Regions from separate parts of the Homo sapiens genome. Here all the other regions are linked to region 1. Evidence: promoter capture Hi-C in 16 types of primary human blood cells and fetal thymus (Javierre and others, 2016). All regions are on one chromosome and are shown on one strand. The core of a region is centred on a gene start or on the middle of the fragment in contact, and the rest is flanking DNA. Distances in the headings are between cores, read along the strand shown.

The links. The method cuts DNA at HindIII sites, captures the fragments that hold promoters and counts their contacts. A CHiCAGO score of 5 or more calls a contact.
Region 2: a contact is called between the fragment with the promoter of CCSER2 here and the fragment with the promoter of GLUD1 in region 1, in 4 of 17 cell types (activated CD4 T cells, naive CD8 T cells, total B cells and 1 more). The highest score is 13.2, in activated CD4 T cells.
Region 3: a fragment that was not itself captured here is called in contact with the fragment with the promoter of GLUD1 in region 1 in 1 of 17 cell types (fetal thymus); the score reaches 7.1 in fetal thymus.
Region 4: a fragment that was not itself captured here is called in contact with the fragment with the promoter of GLUD1 in region 1 in 1 of 17 cell types (non-activated CD4 T cells); the score reaches 5.5 in non-activated CD4 T cells.

What each region holds. Positions count from the first base shown.
Region 1 is chr10:87,090,948-87,098,158 of GRCh38, forward strand. It overlaps GLUD1 (glutamate dehydrogenase 1), which reads right to left and starts at 3,896. Exons shown (of 13, transcript NM_005271.5): 1 at 3,378-3,896. The coding sequence starts at 3,822. It overlaps SHLD2 (shieldin complex subunit 2), which reads left to right and starts at 4,259. Exons shown (of 10, transcript NM_001330112.2): 1 at 4,259-4,301; 2 at 5,987-6,042. RefSeq lists enhancers at 1,908-2,445, 4,850-4,909 and silencers at 3,130-3,469, 3,670-3,809, 3,930-4,629, 4,550-4,807. The HindIII fragment of the contact is 4,292 bases long and covers 1,123-5,414 here.
Region 2 is chr10:84,326,035-84,333,245 of GRCh38, forward strand. It overlaps CCSER2 (coiled-coil serine rich protein 2), which reads left to right and starts at 2,555. Exons shown (of 10, transcript NM_001284240.2): 1 at 2,555-2,774. RefSeq lists a silencer at 2,319-3,048 and enhancers at 3,099-3,448, 4,496-4,575. The HindIII fragment of the contact is 12,289 bases long and covers 1-3,360 here.
Region 3 is chr10:89,706,234-89,713,444 of GRCh38, forward strand. It overlaps KIF20B (kinesin family member 20B), which reads left to right. Exons shown (of 33, transcript NM_001284259.2): 3 at 2,934-3,020; 4 at 3,112-3,228; 5 at 3,694-3,832; 6 at 4,728-4,912. Among named protein-coding and RNA genes, the nearest start is that of KIF20B, 8.2 kb to the left of the region's middle. The HindIII fragment of the contact is 5,889 bases long and covers 1-5,050 here.
Region 4 is chr10:89,392,980-89,400,190 of GRCh38, forward strand. The region is part of intron 1 of IFIT1 (interferon induced protein with tetratricopeptide repeats 1); the gene reads left to right. It also overlaps a transcript of LIPA not described here. Among named protein-coding and RNA genes, the nearest start is that of IFIT1, 4.0 kb to the left of the region's middle. RefSeq lists an enhancer at 324-373. The HindIII fragment of the contact is 6,532 bases long and covers 1-6,490 here.

The DNA.
Region 1 (7,211 bases), core at 2,646-5,145:
TCCCAGAGGCTGAGGGCGTCTTTAACACTGCATTGACTCCGGTCTTCCCTTGCATTATGTCATCAAGATTCCACTGTTTCCTTCTGGCATTTTGACTTTTAAAAACTAGTTACTGGATTAATATAGGGTACACTTTTTTGGGTACTAATATTTGTAATTAAAAGACTTAGGGTCAATGTATGAGAGAACTCCATCTACGGTCCATCAACTATATGTAAATTATGATAATTTTAGAAAATTTTATGATAGTAGCATCAGTGATAGGGAATTTTAATAGTTTTAATATCAAGACAACTGGGGGGGGGCAGACTGGAAGAGAAAGTTAATTGACTCCTACCATCAATAAATTGCTATTATCAATCTGTACTTTCCCTCCAAACTGACTTTAAAACAATAAACTTCCTTCTAAAAAGGTAGACTGGTCTCAGGCAGAACCATAGCAAATGAAATACAGATAATTTACTCTGGGAAAGTTAATAGAACAATCTTTGATAATATTTCCAAACCCACCAGAACTTTTGAACCAGTCTTCTCAAATCAGTCGCATATTCTCACACTATGCCCCTTTGCTGGAAATATTTTTAAGGCCTCACTTAAACTTCCCTTCAGATCCTTTAGCTTACCCTTTCAAATCCTTAACACAGACAAATCTAACGGCCTCAGGTACATGTAGTAACTGGGAAAAGAAAAGCACAAAAACAGTGTGTATTATTAAATATTTACTTGGAAAAAGTACACATCAGCCACCAAGTCTTATAACCATCTGTTTCCCTTAGAGATTATTGCTAGATTGTTGCTTTGCTTCAACCTCAAGAATTTTAATTTAGAAAACTCAGGGATAAGGTTGTTCTTGAGGGAAAATGAGATACAGAAAGCTGAAGGTTGGTAAAAGGGTGGAGAGAGGCAGATGAGGTTTTTTTTTTTGGCAAAGAACCAATGGGAGAGAAGACAGGTTAGTGGGGAGAGGTAAGAAGAACGTGTTAAAATATGTTTAAGAGGGAAAGACAGAATTTCATAGGGATTATCCAAAGCATTTAAAAAAATCTCAATCACCTAATATATTCTGTGTTTCTAAGACTAGAGTGGGACTACAAAGGTTAACAATTTCTTAGACGTTAAAAAAGCTTTAAGAAAGAAGACCTGTCTCTCTTACAATGCACATTCTCTGCAAACAAGGGTGATAAATGGGTAGATAGATCTGGGGATGTCTTGAACACAAAGCATGGAAGGCTATAGTACCCAAATTTTGCTGATCATCTGTTTAGTATACTGTTTATTAAGCAAACTAAAATATTTAAGGGCTTTCATAGCTATGTAATCTTCCCCAATCCAGAAAGCCTTTCAAATTCCTGAAGATAATAAATTTGTCACTTTGTAGAGGCCAATTTTCTTTGATGTTCTATCAATGCTTGCAACAGTTTACTAGTAACAATTCAGTTTCTCCCTGTTTATATGCTGGGGGTTAATAGCATGTTTTTTTGTAAATGGGATAAACGGAACAGAAAATTGTATCTTACACTCTAGTACAAGCAAGTGCTACAGTAACAGTGCTTTGGTATGGCTGACCCAATTTGTTGCTAGGTTCAATATTTTGGCATTAAAACTGCTGTGGCAACAAGAGAAAGAGGACTCACAAACTATGGTAAACGAGTTGCTTCAGTGAGTTTGCGGAGCTGCGACTTATAAAAACAGGAGAGAGCTGGGCATCTGAAGAATCGAAGAAAAAGGATTTCAGAGACCAAATCATCCTGCAGAAAACCACATACACTGATTTATCTGTACACCTTTTAAAGGACTGGCAAATGCTGCCAGCAAGATAGTAAAAAATAAACTTGATGTCCGTTTTAAGAAAACGATGCAACTCAATATTTGCTAAACATTGCCTGAACTTCCTCCAACATCCTTATTTGCCTTTCTTTGGAGTCTGAACTTGTTTTCCTGGTTTGGATAATAAGGGAGTGGTAGGAAGAAGGCAGGCAAATGTAGGAGACTGACGGTGTGTACATTTTATACAATTTTGAAGCTAGAAAGGAAATCAGAGGTCAAAGTGGTTCAAACATTGGTTTTGGCTGAGGCAACCAGAGCTAGGGGATAATTAAGCTCCAAAGTTAAGTCCTAGAAGTGGGCGGGGTCAATGCAAATTTAGTAAATCTTTAAAAACAACCTTTGTCCCCCCTGCTGGGAACACCAGCACCGCTCAAGTTTTTTCCGGTACAGAGAGGATTTCTAAAAATCCTCATAAGTCAGCGGGCATAACTGAAAGACCACAGAACCAGGTTTACTGAGACATGGGTCTAGCCCAACATCCTCTGTGCTTCTCAGCCAATCCACCTCCAACAAGACTCCTCGCCTCCCTGGGCTCTTTATTCCATATAATTTTTCTTTTTTACAGTAGACAAAAGTGGTTTGTCCTTTCCATTTTATGTTACTAAAGAGGTATGATGCAATGTATTGGGGGGAAAAAAGCTCTTATTTGCTCGAAGAAAGCAATCTGACTACAGAGGCCAAATCTACAGACATTAAATGATTTAAACCACAGGATAACCCAGTGACTACCAAACATTATCTGACCCCTTTCTTCACGTACTATATTTTTCCTGAAGCTCAAATTCAGGGCTAGCCAGGACCAGTACACACCCCCAGAGCTATTTCATTCCATTGGCTGGCTGGCCATCCGCAGCCTACAACCTGTAAATTTACTGTCAGGACGCCAGGTGTTTATTTGTCAGAGATATTACATTGCTTGTGATTTTTTTGTGTTTTTCCTTTTTTTTGGTATAAAACAGAACTTGTCAGAATGGGAAAATTACTTAATTGAAACGATTAACGCGTGATTAGTAAATTCCTTTGGTTAATAAAACTGTCTAGATTTCAAACTTAGAAGCCAAGTCATTTTCTATGTTCGGATATCATCTGTCACTATTGGAACAGGAGTGAACAAATACCAGAAAATAATTTGACAGCTTGCATTTAGGGGAGACTCACAAAAGCCCAAGAACACTGACGAGGCATTATCACACGGGCAGGTCATTCCCTTTCCTAGAAGTGCATTTCGGCAGGACCCGCCGTGTGTGACACAGACACCGGGACCAAAAGGAGACCGGTGCAGCGTCTACTCTGCATGCAAGATCAGCATATACAGAGGCCCGGGGTGACGGCGCGGGGGAGGGGGCAGGCCAATCGCATGATGATTTTAAGGCGGAAAAATCACCATCCACAGAGCCGGCCACATCCGAGGCGGGGTGACCCGGGCGGGGACCCGGCCCGCTCCAGCTGGGCTGGGCTGGGCTGAGCAGCGGCCCCGCACCGGCAGGAGGCCGGAGGGGAGGGCCGCAGGGGAGGCAGGGAGGGCGGGACGGGGCCCGGCCGACGCTCACCTCCCTTGCAGGGCGTGCGGTGCTGGCTGTGCTGGGCCCGGTAGCCTTCGATGACCTCCCAGGAGCCGTCGTCGCGCCGGATGGGGAAGGAGAGACTCAGCACATGGTTGCAGGGCTTGATGATCCGCAGGATGCCGCGCACCCGGTTCCGCTTCTGCTCCTCGCTCTCCCGGGTCCTCAGGTCCTCCACCAGCTTGTCCTCCACGATGCTGGCGCCGCGATCGAAGAAGCCCTCCACCATCTTGAAGAAGTTGGGGTCGTCCTCGCGGTCGGCCACCGCCTCGCTGTAGTGGCGCCGGGCGGCCAATGCCAGCCCCGGCTGCGGGGCGGCGGCGGGCTGTCCCCGGGCCCAGCCCAGCAACGCGGCCGAGTCGGCGGACGCCGAGCCCAGGGCAGCGGGCCCGGCCCGGGACAGCAACAGCGCTTCGCCCAGGTAGCGGTACATGGCCACAAGCGGAGGGGAGGTGCGTGATGGTCGCGAAACAGGCGCGCTTTCTCAGACTCCCCGCGACTAGGGAGGAAGGGTCCCGCGCGGGTTGCCCTTTTAAGCCGCAGCTTCCTGCTTGCCCGGCTGTCCCCTCCCCTCGGGCGCTCGCCACCTAACGGGGAGGACGGACTTCGGGGACAGGGCGCCGCCCAGGGCGCCGGGCCTCCGCCTCCGCCGCGGCCTCCCCGGGCCTCGCTGGCGGCAGCGCGCGCCGGCGGGGCGTCGGGGGCGCGCAGGCGCGGGCGGGCTCGGCGCGCACGCTCGCGCGCCAGTGGGGAAGGGAGGGGAGGGGAGAGGAAGGGCGGGGAGGAGAGTGGAGGGGAACGGACGGGAGGGGCAGGGAGGGGAAGGTCGGGGCGGGTCGGGGCGGGTCGGGGCGGGCCCACGGGCGGCCGGATTTGCCCGGAGGCCGCACCCGCCTCCGGCGGGGCTCTCAGGTATGTGCGCCGCGGGGGTCCCTCAGGGGGGTTGGGGGTAGCCCAGGGAGGTCGGGGTCGGGGGCTGGCCTCTGTAGGGCGCTCAGAGGCCGAGTCCCCCCGAGCGCCGCGTGGGTGAGGCTTGGCGGTCTGGTCGGGGACCGGGTCATGTGAGTCACGGGCGCCCCTCCTTTCCGCCCGCGCGCCCTCGGAACGGGCGGCCCACCCTGGCCTGTCCTCTGGCGGCCTCAGGCCGGGGCCGGGCGTGCAGGGGCTGACACGTGGGCAGGAAAGCGAGGCAGAGCCGCCGCCGCGTAAGGCCGGGCTGAGGGCTCGGCGTCACCAGCCAGGGCTGCAGAGAGCGGCGTGGCACCCGGAGTTGGATTATGCGTGGCTGGCGTGAGCTGGAAGGGAGTCACTCGCCCACAAGCTCTCACCACGCGAGCTTTTATTGTCCCGTTCAACTGCTCCGCAGTGTGGAGATCGCATAGTTACGCACGTCGTGGTTGTGTCGCCCCACAGTACTGACTGCTTCACCTTTGCAGACAGAGGCTCCGGCCCGGCGCGGTGGCTCACGCCTTTAGTCCTAGCACTTTGGGAGGTCGAGGCTGGAGGATGGCTTGAGCCCAGGAGTTCGAGGCTGCAGTGAGCTACGATAGCTCCACTGCACCCCAGCCTGGGCAACAGAGGGAGACCCTATCTCCCTCTGAAATAGTCTAAAATAAGGAAACTAGAAATGCGATAATGCCCCCAGGAAATTCTTTCTCAGGAATATATGTATTTGTTAAATGGTTCAGTATATGATTTATTTTTTATTTTATTTATTTATTTGAGATGGAATCTTGCTCTGTCGCCCAGGCGGGAGTGTAGTGGCACCATCTCGGCTCACTGCAGCTTCCACCTCCCTGGGTTCGTTCTAGCGATTCTCCTGCCTCAGCCTCGGGGTAGCTGGGATTACAGGCCCGCGCCACCACGCCCGGCTAATTTTTGCATTTTTAGTAGAGACGGGGTTTCGCTGTGCTGGCCAGGCTGGTCTCCAACGCCTGACCTCAAGTGATCCGCCCGCCTAGGCCTCCCAGAATGCTGGGATTACAGACGTGAGCCACCGCGCCTGGCCTCAGTATATGATTTATAAGCTTTATGCTGTATGAGGGTTCAGTTATGTATTTATACATACTTGATAGGAAATGCTAAAGTTCACATTCCTATGGATAGCTTTTGGTGCTTTTCAAACTAACGAGGCTGGCACGGTGGCTCACGCCTGTAATCCCAGCACTTTGGGGGCCAAAGCAGGCTGATCGCTTGAGGCCAGGAGTTCAAGACCAGCCTGGGCTCGTCTCTATAAAAAGAAAATAAAAAATAAAGCTCTAATGACAGTCATTAAAACTAGCTGCCAAACACCACATTACTAGCGTTAGCGGTCTCAGTGTACTTGGGTGGTTTTAAAATGACACCCATTGGACCTGCAAAACGATGGTGCTTCCCGATATGTTCATGTTATTCATCTTTTAGAATATGGAAGAGAAAGTTCTTAGTTCTCGAAATATTGTGTAAAATATAAGGTGACAACCTGGATCTGTTAAATGACATTCATCTAAGTGTACTCTCAAAGTCAAAATTATCTTTTCATACAGGTGGAACTTATATTTTACCTTACTTGCTAAATAAGTCATTGTCATTAATTGTATTTGCACTGTGTTTTTCAGTGAAAAATGTACTCTGACCTGAATCCTGAATTTTCCTTGATGGTCAAAAGATTAAGGTATCAAATTTCCTTTTTTCTGGATGTATTATCGTTTTACTCTCTTACATTGCAATCCCCCACTCCTGCAAAAAACCCACGGAGTTTCAGAATAAAATGATTAGCATCAGTAAACATGGAAATATTTTTCTTTTTGGATTAAATTATTTGTTTATGTTCTGAGGAAAAATCTTTAAAAGCTTAGTTTTATTGTTTTTGTTGTTCTTTATAACCTTAGCCTTCAGAAAAATAAATGTTTAACTTTGCTTCTTCTGTGACTTGTTCACCTGAATTCAAGAAGGTGGAATTGGGCCTAAGGAGGTGGCTCACGCCTGTAATCCCAGCACTTTAGGAGGCTAAAGTGGGCGGATCACTTGAGGTCAGGAGTTCGAGACCAGCCTGGGCAACACAGTGAAACCTTGTCTCTACTAAAAATACAAAAATAAGCCAAGCGTGGTGGGGGGCCTACAAAAATTAGCCAGGCGTGGTGGCGGGGAGGGGGTTGGGCAGTGCTTGTAGTTCCAGCTACTTGGGAGAACCACTTGAACCAGGGAGAGAGGTTGCAGTGAGCCGAGATCGTGCCATTGCACTCCAGCCTGGGCAACAGAGCGAGTCTTCATCTCAAAAAAGGAAAGGCAGAATTGAAGAAGCTTTGGAAGAGGTGAGGAATAGAGCTGTGGAAATTACTATTTTTTTTTTAATTGAGAATCTCCTGTGTGTAGGTGCCTTACAAACTGGCTTCATGAGTACCCTATAAAACAGATGTTTTTATTTTTAAAATCATCATGGTTTTGTTTTGTTTTGTTTTTTTGAGACAGTCTTGCTCTGTTGCCCATGCTGGAGTGCAGTGGTGCAATCTCAGCTCACTGCAGCCTCTGCCTCCCAGGTTCCAGTGATTCTCCTGCCTCAGCCTCCCGAGCAGCTGGGATTACAGGCGCCCGCCACCATGCCAGGCTAATTTTTTTGTATTTTTAATAGAGACGAAGTTCCACAGTGTTGGCCAGGCTGTTCTCAAACTCCTGGCCTCAAATGATCTGCCCGCCTTGGCCACCGAAAGTGCTGGGATTACAGGTGTTGAGCCACTGCACCTGGTCATTATGTTTTAAAATTACATACAAGTTGTTAAAAAAATATGAACAGCAGAAATAGATTTTAGAAAAACAGAATGAAATTATCCATCTCTTCCCCCA
Region 2 (7,211 bases), core at 1,305-3,804, 2.8 Mb before region 1:
GAGAATTTAGGTTGCAGATGGAATTAAGGCTGTTAATCAACTGGCCTTAAAATAAGGTTCTTATTCTAGAGCATCCAGTTGGACCCAACATAATCATGTGTCCTTAAAAGTGGAAGACTGAGACAGAAGAGGAGGTCAGAGTGATGCAATGTGGGAAGGACTCAAACTACTCTTGCAGGTTTTGAAGATGGAGGAAGGGCAGGCCGGGCACGGTAGCTCACACCTGTAATCCCAGCAGAGGCCGAAGCGGGCGGATCACTTGAGGTCAAGAGTTTGAGGCCAGCCTGGCCAACATGGTGAAATCCTGTCTCTATTAAAAATACAAAAATTAGCTCGGCGTGGTGGCACATGCCTGTAATCCCAGCTATTTGGAAGGCTGAGGCAGGAGAATCGCAGAACCTGGGAGGTGGAGGCTGCAGTGAGCCCAGATCTCACCACTGCACTCCAGTGTGGGTGACAGAGCAAGATTCCATCTCAAAAAAAAAAGAAAAGACCCAGGAAAATTAACTGAAAGCAAATAAAACGTATCAAGGATGCTTATAAAATTAGGAAAATACACTAAAATGCTATTGTGATTCTGCTAAGTATGTACATGTATTAGCATTATGGGAAAGTTTTTTCCTAGCCTTCTTTTTTTTTTTTTTTTTTTTTGGAGACAGGGTCTTGCTCTGTCACTCAGGCTGGAGTGCAGTGACATGATCACAGCTCACTGTAGTCTCAACCTCCTGGGCTTAAGTAATCTTACTGCCTCAGCCTTCTGAATAGCTGGAACTACAGGCATATGCCACTAAGCCTGGTTAATTTCTTTTTTTTTTAATAGACTAGGTCTCTATGTTGCCCAGGCTGATCTTGAACTCCTAGGCTCAAGTGATCCTCCCGCCTCAGCCTCTCAAAGTGTTGAGGTTACAGTCGTGAGCCACCACAACTGGCCTGGGCATTTTATTTTATTTTATTTTATTTTTGAGATGGAGTCTCACTCTGCCGCCCAGGCTGGAGTGCAGTGGCATGATCTCATCTCACCGCAACCTCCACCTCCCAGGTTCAAGCAATTCTCCTGCGTCAGCCTCCTAAGTAGCTGGGATTACAGGAATGCGCCACCACGCCCGGCTAATTTGTTGGTATTTTTAGTAGAGACGGGATTTCACCATATTGGCCAGCCTGGTCTTGAACTCCTGACCTTGTGATCCTCCCACCTTGGCCTCCCAAAGTGCTGGGGTTACAGGCTTGAGCCATCGCCTCCGGCCTGGTGTTTGCTTTTCTAATCTCACTTAATCCAAAGAGAGATTGCACAGCATTTAGACCTAGTCTTTGTCAATATTTTAAGCACACATTATTGTCCAATACATTAAATATCTTAGGGATTGATATTTAAAAGACATTATTTTCTAAATATGAAAGTGTATTATTAAATGAAGTGTGGTTATACAAATCAGGCATTCCGTCTGCTTTTTCCATTTGAGTATCATTGATCTGGAGACAGGAAAGAACTGGATATTTTTCAAGCAGTTCTCCTGAAATGTTATTACAACCGAGCTGTTGGGGCCGACGAGGATTTCAGAGAACTGCAAGTCTACAACCAGGTAAGGGCAACTCCAGAGCTTTAAACAGCCGGCCAGGCCCGGAAGCCTTCCAGGCTGAGGACTCTCAGCAGCAGGACTGGCCGCGTCGAGGAAAAACAAGAGGGGAAGAGATGGCCTCTGGGGGATGGAAGCCCCAAAGGGAAGAAAGACCTGGTTTCTGGCAAAGAAACCACATTGGCCAGGAGCTGTGGCTCACGCCTGTAATCCCAACACTTTGGGAGGCCAAGGTGGGAGGATTGCTTGAGCCCAGGAGTTTGAGACTAGCCTGTAAGACCACTTCCCCCAACTCTAAAAAGAAAAAATAAAAATTAGCCGGGTATTTGGGTCAACTTGTGATAGTTTACTTTGACTAGTGTGGTCTTAGTTGTAATTATTTCGGAGGCTTGGTGATACACGCCTGAGGCGAGAGGATCGCTTAAGCCCAGGAGGCTGCAAGTGAGCTGTGATAGCGCCACCGAACTCCAACCTGGGTGACAGGGCGAGACTCTGTTTCAAAAAAAAAAAAAAAAAGGGAAAACCAGATCAGCACTTGGGGTGCCCCTTCCCCTCAGCTTTAGCAAGATCCTGTGTTTTGATGCGGTAGGCAGGTGCGTGGTTCAGTCATGCCCAATGCTCAGACCACTCCTCACTTTTCACATCCAGGAGGAGGAGCTGTCAGGTTTGACCGCACTCAAGCAGCAAATGTAGTCCAGGGGACGGCTAGAGGTGAGGTCAGCCGCAAGACTGGCGTCACTGCGTGGGCCCAGCAAAAACCTGAGTCAGGAGGCGGCCAGGCAAGGTCAGTGGAGGGGGCGGGGCCCGAAGCGGAGGCGGAGCTTGGGAAAGCCTGGCGTGAGGGCGGGGCGGGGCCAGAGGTGGGCTGAGGCCGGATCAGGCGGTGGGGGCGGTCCCCGTAGCCCCGTGAGGCTCGCGCCTGCGCACGGGCCCGCGGCGGGGCGGGACTGCGCGTGCGCGGTGCGCCGGCCCTGGAGGGCGGAGTCCGGGCGGGCGCCGGCCGAGGGAGGGGGCGCGGCGGCTTTGGAGTCCGGCGCTCCCTCAGGCCGCGGACGCGATGCTGGTTGCTGCGGCTCGGGCGGCGGGGCTGGCGGGGATGTGACGGGCGGCCCTTCGTCTCACCTTCCGTCCTCGGGCCCGCAGGTCGCAGGGCGGCCTGCAGCTGGGCCGCGGCCGAGGAGGCAGCGCGACCTCCGCACGGTGAGATCCGGGCTCAGGGCCAGAGCCGGGGCCGGGGTCGCGGCGGGCGCCGGGGGCAGCCCAAGACCAGGCACGCAGTCCGGGGCGGGGCGGAGGCCCGAACTCCCGGGCTGAGGCGGTGTCGCCCTCCCGTACCCGGCCTCCAGGGTGAGCCTCTCTAGCCCCTCGCGAGCCGCCGGACGCGGGGCGGGCGCGGACCCGGGAGGCCGGAGGGCGCCCTCCCTGCGGCTGTGACAGCGCGGGGCCTCGGGCCGCGGGCGCCGCCGCCTTTCAGGAGAAATCAGGGCGAGGCTGAGGCACTCTGATTTCGGAGCCTGGTTGCGTGTGAGGGTGGATAGGGAAAGTACCGGGGCTCCCCGAATGAGTTCGATTTTTTTTTTCTTTCAATTACTGGGCTAAATGAAAGACACACCCTAAAACACATCCTGAGGTGAAACTTTGGTGGGGCACACCGTTGCCGTAGGTTCAGATCTTCTCTCTTGTCTTTAGACATGTATTTTCATACATTTTTAAATAATGCACCTACTTTCTTGATAAAGTAAAAGGAGGAATGAAGGGACTCCTTTGTGGTGGTCCTTGGTGGCGAAGCTTGTTTCCATTTCAGTAATTGCATATTCATCTGTGTGGGCTCCCCGACCAATGAGGCTGGCTGCTCCCAGACAAGGCCTTAGCGGAGTGGAAATGACTGACGCAGGGACTCTGGTCTCAGATTAGAGTGTTGGTAGCTCACTCCTGTAAGAGAGAAATTGAGCTTTAAGCTTTTTAAAATAGCCATATGAAAAGCATTCCTTTTCTCCTGAGCATTAAAATATGACGGAACCTATTCATTTGGCCAGTTGTTTTTTTTAAAGCATCATCTTTTAGACTAGAGACTTTAGAGATGGCAGCTGCTCTTTAACCAAAAGGAACTTAAGATGCTCTCCTGCAAAAGATGGGTTCAAAACATGTCTTATCCGTCATCCATATGTGATAAAAATGTAAATATTCCTGAGTGTTTGCCTGAAATCAGTCTTCTTCCTCTTGGACTTTATTACTGTTTCTCTTAATTTATGAAAGCTTGTTACTGTTATTTTTTGTTTTCGTTTGTGTTCTAAACAACATTGGCTTCAAATAATCTTCAGGTTAAAAATGCACACTTTGTTGAACCCTTTAGCCATAATTCATACTGTCGTACTTCAGCATAAGCCATAGTTAAGAAAGCACTAGAAGCCATCCTGAAAGCAAGCCGAAAGTCTCTATTAAGAATTCTGTAAAAATTCTACCTTTCCACATTCAGACCTGCATTTTTTGTTGCTTTGACTCAACTCCTTTGACTATTTTGGAGGAAGGGACTTTGAATCCATATTTACAAGTCCTTCAGTGACTCTCCATAGTCTATATCGATAAAATTCAAAGTCCTTCATGATTAGCGGTATTTGTCTCCATTCTAGTGTCATCTTCTACCATTATGCCTGCCCTCTCTATATAAGACTGTTGCAGTTCTCTGAAGATGACATCTTCCTCTGTGGTTTTTCAGTGTTCTTTGTTGAGAATTCTCTACCTAGTAAACAACTTGCCCTTGAAGACCTTACGAAAGTAGCACTTCTGAGGCTTGTCTAGACATTTCATCCCTCTTGTCTTAACTGATTCGTACACTCTCCAGTTAGTATTTGTCAACTGGTAGTTAATGATTTGTTTATGTGTCTGTCTCCACCAGGTTTTGGGGTTTCTTTTGTGTTTTTTGAGACAGAGTCTTGCACTGTGGCCTGGGCTGGAGTGCAATGGCCTCATCTCGGCTCACTGCAACTTCTGCTTCCTGGGTTCATGCGATTCTCTTGCCTCAGCCTCCTGAGTAGCTGGAATTATAGGCACACACCACCACACCTGGCTAATTTTTTTTTAGTAGAGACGGGTTTCAGTATGTTGGCCAGACTGGTCTCAAACTCCTGACCTCGTGATCCGCCCACCTCGGCCTCCCAAAGTGCTGGGATTGTAGGCTGGTTAGGAATGAAACCCCAGTTATGTTAAAAAAAATCCATTTTATGATACAGGAATAAAAAGGGCATGACCAATAAAGATTGCTGCTTCATTGGTCCTACAACTTTATTTTGAGGCGCAAAGTCACGCAGGTAGAAAGGGATGGCGGGGATTACAGTCCAGGTCTTTTGACCATCTGTGTATTTCACTTTTGCCCCCAGTCTCCTAATTCTAAATCTTAATTGTTTTACAATTTGAATGGGAGTTGTGAGCGACTTGGATGTGTTCTGAAAAAAGGGTCAATAGAATATTGAACTTGAAAGAATTAACAGATTATTTGGTTCAACTTTAAAAATTTTACGGTTAAACAACTCAGCCTAAAAAGACAACTTGTTTGAGATTGCTTAGGCTCACCTACATCTCATATCTCCTGACCTCATCATTGTGTGTTTTTCACTACTCCATGGTGCTTTGGGGTGAAATGAAGGAGCTGCCAGTTTTTCAGAGGGAGTGCAAATCTGCTTGCACTTTCTCCCTCTTTGAATACATGGCTGCCACTCCTAGGGACTTAGAACCCTTGTGGCTGAGAAACATGATAATTCATTTGGGGATATGGGAGAAACCTAACCTTCACTATTCCTCTCAGCCAGATAGTTTTAACTTCAGTGCTTGGGGCGCTCTCTCCAGATGCCCCATAACAAGTGGCTTCTGATCACCATATGGACATCTCACATACAGTTAAGTTTTGATGGTACAATGAGATTTTAATATAAGAAGGTTGCAGCTGGCTAATAGCATGGCTAAAATTACTTGTGTGGCTTGTCTGTGAGAGGAGCCTATCTTACTCCTATGTGATAGGATTTTGGGGGAAAAAATTGATGATTGTGGCTGTCTCTAAAAAGTTGAAATGTGTACTTAGTGGTGTGGGCCTGACCAATTCCAAAAGGCTTTTTATCTTACAAACAATGGTCAAAGAAATTTTAAAAATCAAAACAAACTTAATTTTTCTTCTTATTTCTTGTCATATCAGTGGTTTTATATGATAAAGCATACACATAATGCTTAATATTTGCTTTCATATTTGATGTTTTATTTTTGCTATAGTTTTTATACCTTTAGATGATTATACAGTGTTACAATGTCATTTCTTAATAATTGGACATCTAGATTGTTTACTATTTTGCAGATAATGCCGTTAGTATATAGCTGTTTATCATTTTGCTTCTTCCCTTTGGGCTAAAGGCCCAGGAGCAGTATTACAAAGTCAGAGGGTATGAAGGTTTTGTTAATTCTGAAAAATATTACTAGATTTACTTCTAAAAGATATTGATTTACAGACTCCAGTAGAGTTTGGTTGACCATTTCTATCATACTTTATAGGTTTTTGCTTTTAAAAGTTTGTTTTTTAAAAATGAGGATAAGGTTCCTTGCAGTTTAACATCATAGTCCATAATAGACAAGCAAATGCAGTATTCTTCTAGTTTTATTTTCTCCTTTATTTGTCCATCGTCCATAAATTTATTGGAATCTTCTCACCAATTTTCATTAGCACTAACATCATAAATATATTAATCTCTTGAAAAACATTTCTGATCTATTTTTTCTTATTGTAGGCTTTATAGATTTTATATTATTAAATTTATTTTTTTATATATATATATATATATATATATTTTTTTTTTTTTTTTTTTTTGAGACAGAGTCTTGCTCTGTTGCCAGGCTGGAGTGCAGCGGTGCCATCTCGGCTCACTGCAACCTCTGCCTCCTGGGTTCAAGCGATTCTCTTGCCTCAGCCTCCCCAGTAGCTGGGACTACAGGCACGCGCCACCACGCCTGCCTAATTTTTGTATTTTTAATAGAGATGGGGTAATCCCTATATTATATATTTTTTTAAAAAATCAGTGTGGCTGGGTGTGGTGGATCACACCTGTAATCTCAGCACTTTGGGAGGGTGAGGCGGGAGAATCGCTTGAGCCTAGGAGTTCAAGACCAGCCTGGGCTGTTAACATAGTGAGACCCCCATCTCTATTTTAAAGAAAAAAGATAAAAGAAAAAAGTCAGTGATTTTTGTCCTTTGATTGTGTTTTTTGAGAATGAATGCCATGTACCTGTTTGATGCATACTTTTATTTTCTTAAGCTTCTAGAATTCATTTTGTTATGTATATATATTTGGAAAGTTAATATACAACTGAGATAAAATTTCATTTATGTGTATTTTATATTATAGAAAACTACATTATTATGTTTTCATTCTTTTTTCTGAACTTAAATAGGAAAACAAAATAACCTAACTTTAATACAAATGTGTACTTGTTTTTTAATAAATTATGGTAAGTTTTAGTTAAACTAACATTTTTATGACAGCAATATATTGGTTAATTGAAATTTTTGTCTGTTCAAGATTAACCAGAGGGTTGTCTTTAACTCTTATTGCTAATCATTCTAAAATATATGAAAGGAAACCTTAGTAATCTGCTCCC
Region 3 (7,211 bases), core at 856-3,355, 2.6 Mb after region 1:
AGCACTCTTTCAAGTATTCTTGGCCATTTTTCTACTTTCTTTGTAAAGTGTCTCTTCAGATCTTTTTCCCATTTAAATTAGGTTGTTTCATTAGTGTTTTGTGAGAAATCTTTATGTATACAAATCCTTTATCAGATTAATAGTGTCTTGATGATCAGACATTTTAAAATTTAAAGACATTCAATTTAACATTTTCTTTTCTTCTTTGGTGAATTTTTTTGTGTGTGTGTTCTCTTTAAGAAACTTTCGCCTTCCCCAAAGTTTTTGTCTTACTTTTTCTAGAAATTTTAGTTTTCATTTGAGTAGTTATATCTGTGGTCCATTTTGAACAGTTTTTGTGTGCAGTTGATATAGGGACCCAGGTTAACTTTTTTCTTTTTCTTTTTAGCTTCCATACATTTTTTTTTTTTTAACTACATAAGTAGTTATTTCAGCATTATCTATTGAAAAGACTTTCCTTTCCCTGTTGTTTTGGTGCTTTACAAACGGCTGTGTATATGTGGATCTATTTCTGGATTTTATTCTCTTCCTTTGACCTATTTGTCCTTATTCCAACACAATACTCTCTATTTCTGTAGCTTTATAATGATTCTTGAAATTAGGTAGTGTGAATTCTCCAGTTTTGCTTTTCTAGGAAAATTTTGGCTTTTCTAGGTCCTTTGCATATTCATAAATTTTAGAATCAGCTTGCCAGTTTCTACAAGACAGCATCTTGGGATTTTGACTGGGATTGCATTAAATCTGTGGATCAGTTTGGAGAGAATTGACATCTTGACAATATTGAGTCTTAATCCATGAACACAGTATTCTTCATTTTATTTAGGTCTTTAATGTCTTAGCAGTATTTTATACTTGTCAATGTAGAGGCCTTTCGTGTCTTTTGTCAAATATATTTATAAACATTTTATGTTATTTGATGCTATTGTAAATATTTTTAGTTGCTTTATTTAGGCATAATGAAACACTGCATATATTTTAGATACGCAGTTTGATAAGTTTTGACATGTGCATACACTTATGTAACTGTCACTACAGTCAAGATAGTGAGTATAACCATTACCCTCAAAAGTTTCCTTGAGGCTCCTTGTAAGTGCTCCCTCCCATCACACCTCCAAGTAACCTCTGATTAGCATTTTGTTAGTATACATTAATTTTTTGTAGATTTGTTGGATTTTGTATGCGTATGTTCATGTTGTTTCTAAATAAAGAAAATTTTATTTCTTCCTTCCCAATTTGGATGACTTTTGTCTTTTCATTTCCTTTTTTTCTTTCCATTTTTTTTTTCCTTTTCTTTCCCCTCCTCTCCCCTCCACTTCTTTCTTTCCCTTCTTCCCTTCCCTTTTACCTTTCTTTTTCCTTTCCTTTTCTCTTCCCTTTTTCTTTCCCTTACCCCTCCTTTTTTCTTCCCCCATCCCCTTTCCCCCTTCACACCCAATTACACCAGCTAGAACCTTTAATACAATGTTACTAGAAGTGGGGAAGCAGAAATCCTCTTCTTATTACTCATTTTGCTGCTCATCTTAGATTGAGTCTTTCCTGTTAAGTTTGTTGTTAGCGATAGATTTTTTGTAAGTGCCCTTTATCAGGATGAGGAAGTTTGCATTCATTACACTTTGCTGAGAATTTTTATTACAGATGGACGTTGGATTTTGTCAAATGCTGTTTTCCCATCTGTAGAGATAAAAGTTTCTCTTCATTTATTCTTTTAATATGGTTAATTGCCTGGATTGATTTTTGAATGCTAAACAGACTTTATATTCCTAGAATAAACCATTCTTGGTCAGATGTATTATCCTGTTTTATATATTGGCTAGTATTTTGTGTGGGAAATTTTGCGTATATCTTAATGTGGTATTTTGTTTTCTAATTTTTTCCTGAGGATATCTTTGTCAATTGTGTTATTCGGCTTATGTCAAACTCAAAATTAGTTAAGGTATTTTCTCTTCCTATATTTTCTTAAAGAGTTTATGTACAATTTGTATTTTTTTTTTTTTTGAGACGGAGTTCTGCTCTTGTTGCCCAGGCTGGAGTGCAATGGCGCCATCTTGGCTCACCGCAATCTCTGCCTCCCAGGTTCAAGCGATTCTCCTGCCTTAGCCTCCCAAGTAGCTGGGATTACAGGCATGCACCACCATGCCTGGCTAATTTTGTATTTTTAGTTGAGATGGGGTTTCTCCATGTTGGTCAGGCTGGTCTCGAACTCCCGACCTCAGGTGATCCACCCGCCTCGGCCTCCCAAAGTGTTGGGATTACAGGCATGAGCCACCGCTCCTGGCCTGATCATTTTCTTAAATGTTTGATAGAATTTACTGTTAAACTACTAGGGCCTGAATTTTTTTTTTTGTGGCATTATTTTGTTTGAAAATGGATTCAGTTTGCTTCATAGAAATTGGGTTATTCAGATTTTCTAGTTATGTCTGTTTTGATTAAGTTGCATTTATCAAGTTGTTTCCTTTTTACTTTTTTAAAAAAACATTAAAACATTTCTTTAAAATTACATTTTCTATGCACATTTCTTCCTCAGAAAAAGTAACAAGGAGAATGGTACATAGTAAAAAAATTCTGAATACCTCATGGAATTGAGCATTTGAATAATAGAATATTCTAGTTACTTTTGATTTATTCTAGAGTTATATTTTCCAATGACTTAGGGCCTCATTAATTATATTAGGCTTTTGTGGAATAAAGCCTTTTTATAAACTTCACGTATAAATACAGGAGATGGAGGAAATTGGATCTTTTTTGGTGTATTTTGTTTTTATTTAAATAGATTTATTGAGTTTTTCTAACATTATTAAAAGCAGGATAGTGACTGCTTAGAAATTCTTTATCATCTCAGATTATTATGTAAAAAGTAGCCATGTTAAGGAAAAATGGTCTCTGAAAAGCCGTATCTTTCAAAAACACAATGTTTTTCTCCTTTATTTTTTAAGGCAAACAGTTTCGAATCTAAAGATTATCTCCAGGTTTGTCTTCGAATAAGACCATTTACACAGTCAGAAAAAGAACTTGAGTCTGAGGTTTGTGTTGAATTTAATAGAATTTTAATATTTTACTTTCATTTAAAATGGCAAAATACTAGTTTTTATTTATTGGGGGTATGTTTTCTAGGGCTGTGTGCATATTCTGGATTCACAGACTGTTGTGCTGAAAGAGCCTCAATGCATCCTTGGTCGGTTAAGTGAAAAAAGCTCAGGGCAGATGGCACAGAAATTCAGTTTTTCCAAGGTAAAACTGAAGTGTTTTTGTTTTTTGTTTTAAAGATAAAGAGACTTGGCTTAGGCTAAATTGCTATATAATTGTATATAATGAACTATACATTTTATGCTTATGCAACTTAGATTTTAAGGATAAGACTCAAATCTCAGGTCTGGAAATATATAATTGGATGTAAAGAGATCACTGTAGTGTTATTAAAGTTATTATTACTATATTTTTATTAAAGTTATTATTAATATATTTTTAAGAAATATTCTTTTCAAAACTTAGGTGAATACTTGATTCCCTGGTACAGATTTCTATCTTGAAAACTTTCTGGTAGTAAAACTATCAAATGTATTTGTGGGAGTGGGGATGTGGCACCTATTTTAAGAATGAATCTTTTAAATTTTTAAACAGTAGTGTTGGGATGGAACACACTATTAATATTAACTTGAATTTTCTAAAAAGAGTTTTTAAAAAATGTTTGCTTAGGTTTTTGGCCCAGCAACTACACAGAAGGAATTCTTTCAGGGTTGCATTATGCAACCAGTAAAAGACCTCTTGAAAGGACAGAGTCGTCTGATTTTTACTTACGGGCTAACCAATTCAGGAAAAACATATACATTTCAAGGTAAATATTGTTTTATTTTGGTTGGAAAGGATAAGGAAGCAATAATAATCACTCAGTGTTTTTATAATACATACATGTAGTTATGTTGCTATTACCTAGTATGCGTTTGCTCTATTTTTAATAGTACTAGCATATTATTACGTATTGCTGTTTTTTTTTTTTTTTGGCGGGGGAGGGACAGAGTCTCACTCTGTTGCCCAGGCTGGAGTGCAGTGGTGTGATCTCAGCTCACTACAACCTCTGCCTCCTGGGTTCAGATGACTCTCCTGCCTGAGCTGCTCAGCTTCCCAAGTAGCTGGGACTACAGGCGTGCGCCACCATGCCAAGCTAGTTTTTATATTTTTGTAGAAATGGGGGTTCACCATTTTGGCCAGGCTAGTCTCGAACTCCTGACCTCAGGTGATATGCCCACCTTGGCCTTCCAAAGTGCTTGGATTACAGGCAAGAGCCACCATGCCTGGCCTTGCTATTGGCTTTTAATTCAAATTTATTTAATTCATTTGTAAAAATACTTTACCCATTGATAGAGATTTAGATGATGATTAAAATCCAGAAAAAGTATTGATGTGATACAGAGAATTAAGCATAAATGACCAGAAGAAATTTTATATTTCATTTTACTTTTATAGTTTGTGATTATGGGTGGTTACAAATCTTAATATGGTTGCATTATCTGAATGTAAAGTTTCATGTTTACATCAGAATAATAGTCAATAAAATGTTGGTAATACTGTGAATAACAAAGTGATGGAAAACTGAGTAATCCTTAGCTATCATTTCCGTTTCAGTTGTTGACTCTTGCCTATTGGTAGTATAAAAGGAGCTTTAATAAACAAGTAAAGTTTCCTCTTTCCTAGTAGACTGAGAGAGTATAACACAAAAATTCCTTTTGCAGGGACAGAAGAAAATATTGGCATTCTGCCTCGAACTTTGAATGTATTATTTGATAGTCTTCAAGAAAGACTGTATACAAAGATGAACCTTAAACCACATAGATCCAGAGAATACTTAAGGTTATCATCAGAACAAGAGAAAGAAGAAATTGCTAGCAAAAGTGCATTGCTTCGGCAAATTAAAGAGGTATGGAAATATTTTAGTATGTAAAATATGTATAATTCCTGACTTCTTATAAACCCTTTAGATTGTTTCACCATATATTGGAATCTGGTTTGTGGTGGTAGTGTTTTTTGTTATTATTTATGTTTTCGAGAAAAATAAAGCTTAAAGTGTGAAGACATCTTTTGTATTTATATTATACCAACAGCAAGAATGTTTAAACAATACAAATGTAAATGGTTCTGAAATCTTTTTTGATTGTTGTAGAGCCAGCATTGTGCTTTTTATGTAATGATTTTTTAAAATTCTGTTTTTTAATTGTGAAAGTAATATGTACCCAAAATTTAAAATAGGGAATGTGAGAAGTAAAAAGTAAAAGTTTCCTTTAATTTCATTCCTAAAGAAAAAATTATTAATAGATTGGGAAGTATTGTTTTTGGACCTTTTCTCTCTCTATATAAAATCCATATACAGAGCTTTCTATCTGTATATACACAAACATGGTCATATATATGATGTGTATATCTTCATACCTTTGTTTTTATATGTATGATATAATTTTTTTTTTTAAACAAAAAAGAGATCTTACTATGCTTACCATTCTATGACTTGGTATTTCATTTAGCGTATCTTAAATCTCTTCCTACCTTAAATCATGTGCGTTTTATCTGTTATGTCTTTAACTTGTTTTTTTAAATTTTAAATCAGCTTTTAAAACTAAGTCTCCATTGATGGACATTTGTATTGTTTCTGTGTTTTACTATTTTGAACAGTGTTTCAGTAAAGAAACATTCCATTGCAAATATATTTGGTGCTAATTTTCCCAAACTCAGGCCAAGATTGGATATTTAATAATGTCTGGTTTGATAGGTGAAAAATGGCTCACTTGAGCCTACTTTATATTTTTTTAATTGTAAATTAGTTGATTAGTACATCTTAGAATTTTTTCCTGTGAATTGTCACATGTTCTTTGTCCATTTATCTAGTATTGTATGACTTTTCTTGTTTACTGATTTATTAAAATGTATTTAAAAAAATGAATACATTATTAATGTATTAGTGTATGGGTTGCAAATTTTCTGGCTTATTGTTTGCTTCTCCCCTGCCCCCATTGTGTTTTTCTTTTTTTTCTTCCTTTTTTTAGTTTTTAGAGACAGGATCTTGCTTTGTCATCCAGGCTGGAGTATAGCGGTATGATCATAGCTCACTGCTGTCTTGAACTCCTGGGCACAAGTGATTCTCCTGCCTCGACCTCCTCTGAATAGCTGGAACTACAGGGGCATGCCACCACTCCTGGCTGTTTTGATTTTTTTTGTAGAAATGGGGTCTTGGTATGTTGCCTAGGCTGGACTTGAACTCTTGGCCTCAAGAGATCCTCTTCCCTTGGCCTTCCAAAGTGTTGAGATTACATGTTTGAGCTGCCAAGCCTGGCCCATTGTGTTTTTCAGTATTCATCTATTCAGCAAATTTTATTAAGTCATCTGTTTTTTTTCCAGGCAATATTTTCAGTTTTGAGGACAAATGGTACTGCCCTCATGGAGACTGACAATAAATAAATATGTAATATACTGTGAGGAGGTATTGTTTTATATAAGGTGGTACCATATAAACTTTTAAAAATGAAGTTATACTTGTCTGTTTATTCCTCTTGTGCCTTCTGGATTTTGTAGTATATTTTCAGACATTATTCTATTCAAGGCTGTTAAAAACTACTAATTGTTTTTGTAAATATTTTTACCCTATTATTATTAATGCAAATTTTTCTTTTTTAAAACATTTAGAAACCAGGGTTTTAAGGCAGTAAAAAGTGTGTTACCAGTGGAGTTCAAAGTTGAGTCTGTGACTATGGTCTCTGAAAGTAGAATAGTGTTTTAACAAAATTTATGGGGATTGGTGGATAACTCCATAGCCAATTCATAGAGGAAATTAAAATCATTAATAATGAAAAAAATTTTTCACTGGGCATGGTGGTTCATGCCTGTAATCTCAGAACTTTGGGAGACTGAAGCAGGCTGATCACTTGAGGCCAGGAGTTGGAGACTAGCCTGGCCAACATGGCGAAACCCCGTCTCTATTAAAAATACAAAAAATTAGCTGGGCATGGTGACTCACACCTGTAGTCCCAGCTGCTTGGGAGGCTGAGGCACAAGAATTGCTTGAACCCGGGAGGTGGAGGTTACAGTGAGCCGAGATTGCGCCACTACATTCCAGCCTGGGTGACAGAGCAAGACTCTCTCAAAAAAAAAAAAAAAAAAATTCTAACAAGTTATCCAGTTAAAACATGATACTGTTTTGCCTATGAAATGATTAAAATGTTAAAAAA
Region 4 (7,211 bases), core at 1,975-4,474, 2.3 Mb after region 1:
GAAAAGAGTTTTGCAGGAAGGGAGAAAATGATCCCAATCTGAGAGATTCTTTCCCATCAGATTCACTTCTGTCTGATATGGGGAAGGAATGGACAGCTTGTCTGAGTAGAGGCATTGCTTTCTGCAGGTTCTTTACCACAGAGAAAAAGCAGGACCCACAAGAATGTGAAAGCCTCAGTCTTGCAGCCTCTCTGATGTCTTGTGGGTAATACAGTGGAGATGTGGTAGGAAAAGCTCACAGCCTTCCTCCATAGGCTTCTGGTCTCACTTTCTGCACTGCTGGCCTCTTACAACAGGTTTTCGCAATCAGGCTGAGCTTAAGATAAACAGATTGCCTCCTCCCTGGAAAATCTAGGCTCTTGGTACGTCCTTGACTGAAGATGATCCACATCTGCTTGGGAAGATCCGTATCTTCCTTACCTAAAGGGCCTAATGTGGGAATTTCTCAGCTGATTTAAAAACCATTACTTAGGCCGGGCAAGGGGGCTCATGCTTGTAATCCCAGCACTTTGGGAGGCCAAGGTGAGCAGATCGCCTGAGGTCAGGAGTTGGAGCCCATCCTGGCCAACATGGTGAAACCCCATCTCTACTAAAAATACAAAAATTTGGGCATGGTGGCACATGCCTGTAGTCCCAGCTACTTGGGAGGCTGAGGCAGGAGAATCACTTGAACCTGGGAGGCGTAAGTTGCAGTGAGCTGAGATTGTACCACTGCACTCCAGCCTGGGCAACAGAGCGAGACTCCGTCTCAAAAACAAACAAACAAACAAAAAATCCATTACTTAATACTGATTTGTAAATTTTCCCCTCAGTGCTCCAGTTGGCAAAATTTTGAAGAGGTAAAAATTCCAGAAAATGCACATTACAGGCCTATGATGAACCCTCCTCTGTAAACAGATGGAGTTGGTACTGATAATTAAAATAATAATAATATTAAATGTTATAAAGGTAGTTATCACTTCTTGAATTCGTATTAAGTGACAGCCTGGCTTCTAAAAGTGTTATGTAAATTATTCCATTTAATTCTCAAAAGATACTTATAAGGCAGGTACTTACACAGTCATGCATCGTGTAACAATGGGGATACACTCTGAGAAATGCAGCTGTTAGGCAATTTCATCATTATGCAAACATCAAACCTAGACGGTATAGCCTACTACACACCTAGGCTATAAACCTGTGCAGCATGTTACTGTACTGAATACTGTAGGCAACTGCAATACAATGGCAAGTATTTGTTTATCTAAACATATTTAAACATAGAGTACAGCAAAATTGTGGCATTAAAATCTTATAGGACCACCACCAAATATGTGGTCCTTTGTGGACTAAAATATCATTATGCAGTGCATGGCTGTATGATCCTGATTTTACAATAAGGAATCTTAGATTTAGAAATGTTAAGATCACACAGACAATAAGTGGTAGCTTTGAGATATGGATCAGGATCTCTACATTCAATGATATTTCATTAAACCTTTAAATCAATGTTTCCCAAAGGGTGTCAGTGGGGGCTCATGTGATTATTTCAGATGGCAAACTCATTTGCTTTTATGTTTTCCTGCTTTTATGTTTATGTCAATATGTACTACAGGAAAATATATATATATATATATATATATATATATATATATATATATATATATATAAAACTTGAATTTTATTCAGGTTAGCAATGTGATTTTTTATTGTGATAAAATACATGTAAAATAAAATTTATCATTTTAATTACTTTAAAGTATACAATTTAGTAGTATTTAGTATATTCATGATACTACTGTGCAATCATCATCACTATCTAGTTCAAGAACATTTTTCTCGCTATGTGGAGAAACTGCATAGCCATTAAGCAGTCACTCCCTACTTGCCTCTTTCCCCAGGCCCCAGCAACTGTTAATCTGCTTTCTGTCTCTATGGATTTGCCTATTGTGGGTATTTCATATAAATGGAAACACATACTATGTGGTTATATTGAATTTTTATAATTTTATATTTCCTAAGCATCCCTTTTTGAATATTAAGTTGGACTTTCTCATTCCAGAAGCAGGGCTCAGTCACCCTTGAGACAATTTCTAGTTCTCCACCTTTTTCCAGTTCCTCAATGTGATTGATCCAGATATCTGCTTTATATAACTACCTCCTGGTGACCACTTCCCTATAGCATAGCAGGGTATGACCTATTTGACTTGCCCCCACTGACCCCACCCCCACCCCACATGGACCAGGCAGATGTGCTGCAGTGACCACCTCTCAGTCACAGCATGACCCCTTGGCAAAATTGCACCTGCTTGCTCTAAACCCACCAAATAGAACTCTCCACAGGAAACCCACCTAGGTAACGCCCTGGCCTCCCATAAAGGCTTGGGCCCACATTCCCCACTCGCTGGTTGAGCAGGCATGTCCTCAATGGCTCCCCCTTTCCCATTGGCCCTGCAAGGCATATTACCCTCTTCTCTCTGGATCTGTAAGTAATAAGCTGCTTCTGTTATTTCACATACTATTTTTTTCAATTGCCTCCTTTGTATTTCACCTGACCAACACACTCAAACTCTTCTTTACTGGTCATGGCTTTCCGAGAGAGTGGCTGTCTCAGTAGAAATAAACTAAACACAGGTCAGGCAAGAACCACAAGGGCATCTGCCTGATATAAACAAGTTTCCTATAAAAGGGGACACCTAGACATAGATCAGACGCTTAGGCATTAGGCTGTTCATCAAAATAAAGAAGTATCCCAAGAAAGGCACATTGTAAATATCCATGACCAAATACCCTGAAGCTCTTTCAAGGCAGGGCTGTAGATTGTAGCCACTCTCACAGGAGAGACCTCAAGACAAAATTAGGAAAAAAAAAAATACAACAGTGACCTTTTGGATCAGTTTTTTTCATTTAGTGTAGTGTTGTCAAGGTTTATCCATGTTGTGTCATGTATCAGTACTTCATTCCTTTTTATGGCTACATAATATTCCACTTTATGGATATATTACATTTTTTTATCTATCAGTTGGTGAACATTTGGGTTGTTTCCATTTTTTGGCCATTATGAATAGTGCTGCTATCAACATCTGTGTGCAAGTTTTTATTTGAACACCTGTTTTTAAGTATCTTAAGTATATATCCAGATGTGGAACATCCAGGAATGTATACCCAGGAATGTGTCATATGGTAATATTATGTTTAACTTATTGAGGAACCACCACATTGTTTTCCACAGCAGCTGCATCATTTTACATTCCCACCAGCAATGTATGAGGGTTTCAATTTCTCCACATCCTTATTGCCTTAGTCCTTTTTGTGTTGCTATAGAAGAATAAGCAACAATTTCTAAGGCTGGGCAATTTCTAAAGAAAAAAGGTTTATTTAGCTCACAGTTCCGCAGCCCATACAAGAAGTATGGTGCTGGCATCTTCTCAGCTTCTGGTGAGGGCTTTGGTGCTGTGTCAAAACACACTGGAGAAGGTCAAAGGGGAAGCACATACAAAGAGGGTCTAAACCCAGGGGGCATCCTCACATTATAACAACCCATTCTCAAAGGATTAATCCATTCCCCCAAGAACCAATCCAGTCTCACAAGAATGAGAATTCACTCACTACTACTAGAATGGCACCAGGTCATTCACGAGAGACCTACCTCTATGATCCAAACACATCCCACTAGACCCTACCTCCAAAATTGTGACACTAGAGATCAAATTTCCGTAGATTTGGTGGGGACAATCAAACTGTATCCAAACCATAGCACTTGTCAATACTTGTTCACCTATTCTCCTTTTCTAAAATTATTATTGTAGCCAACTTACTGGGTGAGAAGTGATAGCTCATGGTTTTGGTTAGCATTTTTCTAGTAGCTAATGATGTTGAGCATCTTTTCATGTGTTTGCTAGTCCTTTGTGATTCTTCTTTGGAGAATTGTCTACTCAAGTCCTTTGCCCATTTTTAAATTGGGTTGCTTATCTTTTTGTTGATGAGCTGTAAATATACTTACATATATTTCTCCATACATGAGTAATCACATACATACAAATATATAAGGATTTGGTTCTTTATAAAATAGGGTCGTGTTTTGGACACTTCTTTACAATTCACTTTTCTTGATATATATGAAAGTCCATCAAACTCAAGTAGTTTTGATCTAATTCATGTAGTCTAGTGGCTACATAATATTCTATGGTATAGATATACCTTTATTTAACCGTTCCCTATTAATATTTCCAGTTTGTTGCTAATATATACAGTGTTGGTAATGAATATTCTTGAGTATACATCCTTATGTACTGGTTATTTTTTTCTGGGAGATAGATTCTGAGGAGTGGAATTACTTTGTTGAAGGAAATGTAATTTTAATGACCACCATTAATTTTAATTTTGATTTTAAAATTAAAATTTTAATTTTAATTACTATCAATTTTCATGGCTGTCATCAGATTGATCTTGAAGGCCATAATAATACATGGCTTCAGAAATTGTGTCCTCATCCATTTAAACTCTTGCCAATCTGAGTGGAATAAAGTTATAAATTATTGCTTCTTTAATTTGCATTTCTCTAATGGCTAGAGGCTTAGGGCATCTTTTTTCTTTTTATAGAGACAGGGTCTTACTATGTTGCCCAGACTGATCTTAAACTTCTGGCCTCAAGCAAATCTCCTGCCTTGGCCTCCCAAAGTGCTAAGATTATAGGCATGAGTCATTGTCTTGATCCAGAGCATTTTTTTTCATATTTATTGGCCATTTATATTGGCTTTTCTACAAATTATCTATTCACATAGATTTCCAGTGGTCTGTTGAACTATACCAATTTACAAAAACACTTTGTATATTACAGATGAGAGTCTTCTCTGTATTACAAACATTTTCCACGTTTTTGTTATTTTTCTATTTACTTTGTTTGGAGTACCTTTGCCATAAATAAATCACAAATTGTTTTATTATGGTAAAACATATATAACATAAAATCCACCATTTTAACCATTTTTAAGTGTACAGTTCTATGACATTAAATACATTCACTTTATTGTGCAACCATGACCACCATCCATCTCCAGAAATTTTTCATCTTCCTAAACTGAAATTCTGTACTCATTAAACAATCATTTCCTATTCCCTCCTCCCCCAGTGTGGAGGATCAGTCAGAGTGACGGGAAAAACTATAGGGAAAGAATGCAAGCCTTCTGAAAGGTCAGAAGGTTCTGCAGAGCCCTGGGGGAGAACAGCTGAAGGCAGCTGTTCTATAACTCTGAGGCAGAGGGCAAGGAGTAGGTACAAGGGAGTGTGGGGGAATGTATCTTAAACAGGCTTGTTTATTTATGTTGACCAGGAACTGACCTTTGATCATCCACATGCGTGATGTTCCCTGAAAGGGGAACAATAAATGTTAATTCCCTACAGGTTGTGTTGGCTCCAGGTTTTCGGCATTGTGCCTGCACTGAATAAAAGTAAGCAGCTCCAGCTTCTCGGGGATGTTCTCTGGCCACTAGAGCCAGGCAGTCACCTAGCTGCTCTTACATTGCATACCTGTGTCTGAGTACTCATTTCATCCATCAGCCAGGGTCTGTGGGACAGACCCGGCACCCTAGTCCCTGTTAATCACTATTTTACTTTCTGTCTTTATGAATGTGCCTACTCTAGGTAGCTTATATAAATTGAATCATACAATATTGTCCTTTTGTGACTGGCTTATTTCACTTAACATAATACCTTCAAAGTTTATCCATGTTGTAACATGTATCAGAATGTCTTTTCTTTTTTAAGGCTGAATATTCCATTGTATGTATATACCACATTTTGTTTATCCATTCATCCATCAATGGACACTTAAGTTGCTCCTACCTTTTGCTATGTGAATAATGCTGCTATGAATATGGACAAATAAATAATCTGCTTGAGTCTCTGCTTTCACTTCTTTTTGGGTATAAAACCAAAAGTGGAATTGCTGGATCAAATGGTAATTCTATGGTTAATTTTTCTGAGGAATTACCATACCATTTTTCACAGCACTTGCCCCCTTTTACATTCCTACTAGCAGTGCACATTTCTCTAGATTCTCACCAATAATTGTTATATCCTGCTTTTTTTTTAAAATAATAGCCAACCTAACAGACATGAAGTGGTATCTCATTGTGGTTTTTATTTGCATTTCACTAATGATTAGTGATATTGAGCATCTTTGCATATGTTTATTGGCCATTTGTATATTTTCTTTTGGGAAATGTCTATTTAAGTCCTTTGCCCATTTCTTAATCAGTTGTTTGTTTTTTGTTGCTGAGTTGTAGAGGTTCTTTATCTATTCTGTATATTAATCCCCTATCAGGTACAAGATTTGCAAATATTTTCCTTCATTCTGTGATTTGTCTTATCACTCTGTTGATAGTATCCTTCCATGCATAAAAGTTTTTAATTTTGGTGGAGTCCAGCTTAATTATTTTTACTGTTATTGCCTGTGATTTTGGTATCATATCTAATGAATCACTGCCAATTGCCAAATCCAATGTTACAAAGCTTTTTCCTTTCTTCTGAGTTTTATAATTTTAGGGCTTACATTTAGGTCTTTCATCCATTTTGAGTTAATTTTTGTATATGGCATAAAGTAAGGGTCCAACTTTACCCTTTTTCATCATATATCCAGCTTTCCCACACATTTGTTGAAAAGACCATCCTTTCCCCATTAGATGGTCTTGTCATTCTTATTGAAAATCATTCCACCATTGTTATGGAATGAATTGTGCACTTCCCACCCACCCCTGCCCAAAATTCTTAAGTTGAAGCCTTAACCCTCTTATGTTGAACTGTTGTTTGGAGATAGAGTCTAAAAAGAGGTAATAAAGGTTAAATAAAATCGTAAGAGTGAGGCCTTAATCCAACAGAGCTGGTGTCCTTAGACACCAAAGCTCACTCTCTCTCTCTCTGTGCCACTGAGGAAAGGCCACTTAAGGATGCAGCAAGAAGGAGCCATCTGCAATCCAGGAAGAAATTCCTTGCCAGGAACCAAATTGGTTGTCACCTTCATCTAGGACTTCTAGCCTCGAGAACTGTAAGAAAATAAATTTCTGTTGTTTAAGACACCCACTCTGTTATATTGAGTTATGACATTCTGAGCTAACTAATACAGTCAGATAAGTAAGGGTTTTTTTCAGGGCTTTCTATTCTATTTCACTGGTCTATACATCTGTCTTTATACCATTGTTGTAATATTGTGATTACTGTAGCTGTGTAGTAAG